2 separate regions of the Homo sapiens genome follow, and region 1 is linked to region 2. Evidence: promoter capture Hi-C in human tissues and cell types (Jung and others, 2019). All regions are on one chromosome and are shown on one strand. The core of a region is centred on a gene start or on the middle of the fragment in contact, and the rest is flanking DNA. Distances in the headings are between cores, read along the strand shown.

Evidence for each region. The method cuts DNA at HindIII sites, captures the fragments that hold promoters and counts their contacts. A contact is called where the count stands out against the background at its distance.
Region 1: a contact is called between a fragment that was not itself captured here and the fragment with the promoter of FGF7 in region 2, in 1 of the 25 tissues and cell types used here (dorsolateral prefrontal cortex).

What each region holds. Positions count from the first base shown.
Region 1 is chr15:49,924,755-49,927,947 of GRCh38, forward strand. All of the region lies in intron 16 of ATP8B4 (ATPase phospholipid transporting 8B4 (putative)), which reads right to left. Among named protein-coding and RNA genes, the nearest start is that of ATP8B4, 190 kb to the right of the region's middle. The HindIII fragment of the contact is 3,396 bases long and covers 1-3,106 here.
Region 2 is chr15:49,421,686-49,425,228 of GRCh38, forward strand. It overlaps FGF7 (fibroblast growth factor 7), which reads left to right and starts at 1,557. Exons shown (of 4, transcript NM_002009.4): 1 at 1,557-1,755; 2 at 2,347-2,898. The coding sequence starts at 2,613. All of the region lies in intron 11 of FAM227B (family with sequence similarity 227 member B), which reads right to left. The HindIII fragment of the contact is 10,247 bases long and covers 1-3,543 here.

The sequences.
Region 1 (3,193 bases), core at 159-2,658, 500 kb after region 2:
CTTGCCTAATTGCCAGAACTCATGTGGGTTTTCTTGTACTCTAGCTCTAACCCCTACATTGGGGAAAAAGAAAGAGAAAAACATATGCAATTTATCTAATTGTTAAACCAGGGGGGGAAACTTAATCCTAGGAAAGACTCTCTCTTGATTTTCTTGTACAATAATCCAATTGAATAATTTCCCTTATATTTTCTCCCTTCCAACACCAGAGGTATAAAGGCAAACGATGAATAACCTACATTTGCCTGTATTTTGTATTCTAGACTAGGACATTAGTTCTCTAACTTATGGTCTCAGGACCTTCTTTATAATTTTTCAATGCTGAGTGAGGATTCTAAAAAGTTTTTTTAAGTGAATGTTATCTATCAATATCCATATTAGAAATTAAAAATGAGAAATTTTATTATATCAGTTTTATAACACTAGTTACTATAATTATTATTATTGTAAATCTAACATATAAGCATAAATAACATTTCTATAAAAAAACTATATTTTCCAAAAAATATTAGTTTGGAGATTGGCATTATTTTACATGATTACAGATCTTTGTAACATCTAGTTTAATAAAAGAGGGTTGGATTCCCATATCTGTTTCTGCATTCATTCTGTTGTGACATCACATGTCACGTGGCTTCTGCAAAACTCCATGGTATACTCATGAGAAAAAGAATGAAAAAGATAAATAATAGTGATATTATAATGAAAATACTTTTGTCCTTGTGCATCCTCTGAAAAACTCACAAAGTTCCCTAAGGTTCCCTGGACCACACATTTAGAATCACTGGTCTGGAAGAATCACAAACTGATTGTGATTTGTGTAAATCCCTTACCATCACTGTATCTTAGTTTCTACATGTAAAAAGGAGATGTTTAAACAATCTAACTTCAAAGGTCCTTTGCAGCAGTACAATTTTCTGATTCAATAAATACTTTCCATCCCTGATACTTTCCCTTAACCTAGTATTTGTCCCTTTAAATTTGATTTTGTGGAAATCCAATTTCATGGAATCCTGCTTATGTTTACTCATTAAACATTTGCTTTAGCAGCAAGTTTTATATCTCTTTTCTTCCAAGCCTTCTGGTCGTTTCTGTTCAAAGTTAATAAAATCTAAGTCATTTCAGAAGTTAGTATTTCTTAAATAAACTAAAAAGGACATAGTTTTAAATGGTCACGATAACATATGGCCAGAACTTGGACAAAGGTTACAGTTTTTAGGTTATAAAATCTTCTCCCAATGCTTTCCATTTAAATATTAGTGTTCTTCAGAGATTTACTTGGGGTCTTTTTTTTATCTTCCCATCCTTCATACTGTCCCTGGGCAACTGCATCATTTCTATGGCTTCAGGTTCCAACACCAGGCTGTTTTCAAATGTGTATCTCCTGTCCAATCCATCTCTAGCACTCCATTCTGACCTGCACATCCGACTACCAGTTGAAAATCTCTTGGATATGCTCAAGCACACCAAACTCATACTGGACATATTACCCTCCTCCAATAATTAGCTACTCCTCTTATATCCCCAGTCTTAGTAATCAGCTTCACCATCCATTCAGTCTCCCAAATCAGAAATCTAGGCATCACTCACAGTTCTCCCTTCACCAACCATACATCTAAGGGAAGCTACGGATTTCTCTTGCCACTTCTCTCTTGCCTAGAAAATCACTTTAACCTAACTGGTTTTACCCATTCCAGTACTGCTTCCTTCCAGACTCTTCTGTATATTCCAGTTACAGTCATCTTCATGCTGCTGCTTAGAATCCTGCAATAGCTTCCCTCTCCCTTCTATTAAGTTTGGACTCCTTGACATGACATATAGAGCTTATTAACAGCTGCACTATCCAGTCTGTTTTACCATGTTCTCTTGGAGGCAGCCACATAGAACTACCTTTCAACTTTTCACATTCTCCCTTAGCTTGAAGGCCCTGGAACATATGGGGAACTTAAATCAATATTTACTTAATTAAGATGAACCAAAATTGTGCACAATTTATTGAAAGCAGAAGCTATGCCTTTGTGACATAAAGGAAAGAAAAAATGTCACAAATGGCTTCCAGTTAGATGCAACAGCAGCACTGTGAAGGGTGGTAAATAATTCTATTTTGCCATATCGCCGCTGTTCATACATCTACACAGAGAAATGCCTGTCACATGACAGTGTGATTTGTACTTTGATAATCTTGAAAAAGTTTAGAGTTGAGCAACTTTTATCTAAAGATCTCGTAAGAGCCTTCCAAGAAGCTTCTTGTAATTTCTTCTTCTTTAATGGTTATCTGCCACTTGCCCCTGTTAATAGCCACCTCTGAATTTTATCTCTGTATTTCTATTTACAGAATTAGTAGAATTGGTCCTTCCAAAACTATATAATGTCATTTATATTTTTTACTAATATAGTATATTCTGTTCCCTCTGGAAAAAAATCCTTTATAGAAATCAATTTTTATGTAGATACTTCTGACTTAAATCAGGGCTCTTTCTTCAGAATGAAAGTACTACTGGTATTGAAATTATACATTGATGATTTAGTGAATAATGGCTGCCACCCAAAAACAAGGAAGCAGAAGAGGGAGGAGGAGAAAGGGGAGGATCAGCAGCAACAGAAGCAATGCCTGAGCCTTTGCATCAGGGTGTTGTTCCTACAGACCAACCCATGTGACGATCATGAGACCAGGATTGTTTTCTGCCTTGTTATCATGCAAAGACTTTTCTGCCCTGGTAGAGTCCCTCTAAAAATCCTCCTGATTAAAAACCAAGCAGAATAAAAATAAATCCAGCAAACCTTCATGCATTCTGTGGTAGAGCACTACCTTTCCTCATATGGGATCCATTAAGGCAAACATCTGATGTTTGTGGTTAGGCTGCAATTTCTCCACAGCCTGTAATGGTGACCAATGCTGAGGAAAAGCCAAACATCTCCCTGTGTAGCAATTTTAGGTTTTTGTCAACACCCTCAGAGCAAAAAGAAACCAACTCTGGGCCAAACCAACATCAATAACACCTTCCCTGAGGCTGTAAATAGAAGATAGCTCCTGCTGATACAACATTAAGCCAACACCTAGAACGGCATGTGTGCTCATCAGTGGCACTGGTGATGACTTCCCTGTTGTCAAAACATAAAAATAAAAATAAACATTCTCAGATGTTATTTGGTTTTTACCTGCTGAGAGCCATCTTTCAAGGCTAGTTTCTAG
Region 2 (3,543 bases), core at 307-2,806:
GTAAACTTACTATTGATAACTTTTATTTCTTTAGAAGCAATATCTAAGTCCTAGGAATTCTGAGCCTGCTCATTATTGTTACCTCCCAAACTAGCGGAGTGTGATTCAGAACACAATAACATTATATTTTCTTTCCTCCTTCTCTTCCTCCTTTTAGAGAATACATGATAGGATGTTTTCAGCTTTCTAGCTTTCAACAGATGCAATGATCAAAGAGTCTGTCCCCCTCTGCTTTAATAAATGTGGAACATTCAACATTTGGCATATGAAGAGTAACTGGGTACATCTGAACTATTCTGTGCTCTTCATTCTGTTCCCTAAAGGGACAGATACAAAGAGAAATCACATAAACTATAATCCAGTTGAGTAGATTTAATTTCCTTTTCCTATTTGGTCTACATGCACCACCTGGTGGTAAAGTAGTGCATTTCACATAGAGAGAGAGAGAGAGAGAGAGAGAGTGTGTGTGTGTGTGTGTGCGCGCGCGCGCGCGTGCACGCGTGTGTGTTTTGAGGAGTATATAACATGAAAAAGATAATTTTAATATACTTTCTTAATACTGATTTAGATAGACAACACAATTATTCTACACCAAGAATCTAATACAACACTTGAGCACTACTTCATGTATAACAGAACAGGAAGTAAAGGAGAGAACTCATGCTGGAAAGTAAAATAGCTTTCACTTATTTACCTTAGCAATACATATTATAATTCCATCTCTAAATTAACATTTATTGTTCCAATATTCTTATTGAGGCAAAAATCAAACACTGATAATCAATGTGAAACCATTTCCTCCTTTTTAAAGAATAACAGCTTTTAAAAGTAGGTGCCCTGTTCCTTATATTAGTAGTGAGTATAAGTCACAGATCACAGAATTGTAAAGCACCATAGAGGCATTAGACCAATACACCAATTTTACAAATGTAGCAGCTGAGACTCTGGAACAGCAGGTAACTTGCCCGAAGTCATACTGGTCATTAGTGGTCCAACACAAATAAGAATCTAGATCTTCTCACTTTCAGCCTAGGAATATAATACATAAAAATTGTACTTATATTCATATTCAATGAATTGTCTCTGTATGATGTGATAATATTCAACTTATCTACACAGTGCTTTAAGGCACTCATATGTTAGTTAACACATACCAGTTTTGTTCTAACATTCTGAGCACAAAGAAGTAATTGAAGAAATGCATGTATCATAAAGCTATGGAAAAGATTTTCTAAGTATTAAAAAACCCTATATATATGTTCAAATGAATAATTTTCCAAGTATAATACAACTGCTATATTGCAAAGAAGGTTTAAAAAATTCCCTTTCCCCTTCTAACTGCTTCAGAACCAGAGATCTGTTTCTACAAAGTAGGTACCCACTTGTAGATTTAAGCATAAAACATGTTCATAGCTCCCTCTCATGACCATTGAATACTATACAAGCCTCCTTTTATTCTCGCTGTTGTATTCAACTAACAGCTCACTGGCTAAGTTTTAATTGCTTCCAATGAGGTCAGCAAAGGTATTTATCGAAAAGCCCTGAATAAAAGGCTCACACACACACACAAGCACACACGCGCTCACACACAGAGAGAAAATCCTTCTGCCTGTTGATTTATGGAAACAATTATGATTCTGCTGGAGAACTTTTCAGCTGAGAAATAGTTTGTAGCTACAGTAGAAAGGCTCAAGTTGCACCAGGCAGACAACAGACATGGAATTCTTATATATCCAGCTGTTAGCAACAAAACAAGTAAGTTACTGTTATTTGTCTTTTAAAACAATGCTGAATGTTTTCTAAAAGTTTATCTCTTTTTCTGATTTTAGTACTGAGCAGGAAAGTAAAGTTACAAGATTTTTGAGCCATGTAACTATAGTAATTATGCTGTAGAACATAAAGATAAGGTTGAAGTTCTCCAGAGCAATCCTGACATTTAACTTAAAAAACCTGGGCAGTTCAGGAGAAAATAATTGATTAACCACAAATGTAAAAGCATATAATAAAGAAGTCTAGGGAGAAAGCAGTTACACTTTGTTAGCAGTAATTGTAAAAACTTAATTTAAATCAATAGTTCTGAGTGCAGTATGGTTCTCACAAAATAGCAATTGGAATGAATGGTACAGTCATATTCTGTTTTGTCTCTACTCATGCATAAATTTTATAAATCTACACATAAAGTGGTAAAGATTTTGACATCCTCTGTGAAGGCTGTTTTAAATGTATCTTCAAAGAATAACCTATACTGTATTCTAATGCTACTACTTACCCACTAAAATTTACACATACAATTTTTTATCTTCCTCTCTCCTCCCCTCCCTATTCTTAATCTCTCATTGCAAACAGAAGTCAAATAGCAAACAGCGTCACAGCAACTGAACTTACTACGAACTGTTTTTATGAGGATTTATCAACAGAGTTATTTAAGGAGGAATCCTGTGTTGTTATCAGGAACTAAAAGGATAAGGCTAACAATTTGGAAAGAGCAACTACTCTTTCTTAAATCAATCTACAATTCACAGATAGGAAGAGGTCAATGACCTAGGAGTAACAATCAACTCAAGATTCATTTTCATTATGTTATTCATGAACACCCGGAGCACTACACTATAATGCACAAATGGATACTGACATGGATCCTGCCAACTTTGCTCTACAGATCATGCTTTCACATTATCTGTCTAGTGGGTACTATATCTTTAGCTTGCAATGACATGACTCCAGAGCAAATGGCTACAAATGTGAACTGTTCCAGCCCTGAGCGACACACAAGAAGTTATGATTACATGGAAGGAGGGGATATAAGAGTGAGAAGACTCTTCTGTCGAACACAGTGGTACCTGAGGATCGATAAAAGAGGCAAAGTAAAAGGGACCCAAGAGATGAAGAATAATTACAGTAAGTAATTTTAAGTACTGCTCATGAACCTTAGCAATCTGTTAATGGATCAATTTTCAGGTGATATGTTTTCTCATCTTCCTTTTGCTTCTTGGAAAAAAAATTAAATAAAATGTCACCTAATTTCTCTAAATTGAACTATGTTGAACTATGCCCCTAAAAATATCTCTTTTAACAGGGCAAATCTACTTACATTATAGTTGGACCTGATAATCCAAGCCAATTTGAAAATATATACTCCTTGTCCTGAAAATGCTCATAAGTTAAGCAAAATGTAAATAATATTATTCACACCAAAATGTGACTTAATATTGTCTAAGCAAAACTCATTAAGATATCTAATTTAGAACTTCATAAATTATCACTAAAAGCTATTTATCACTAGTTTAAAGAGTAGGGAAATTATTTTTATTAATTTGATTTTCTTTGAAATAATATTTTCATGATGTAAATTAAAATACTTAATCTGTGCTAAGATATGCATTCCTTTGCAATTGTGTATAATGATAAAATAGAAGGGAATCTGTGGTATCCTTATTCATTTGAGTCATAATGAGCTTGTATTAAGTTGATGACTTATCAACTTAGGCAGAAAAACAGATCTCTCCTAACGTTTTCCTTAACTAAATCTTTTATGTCATAAAA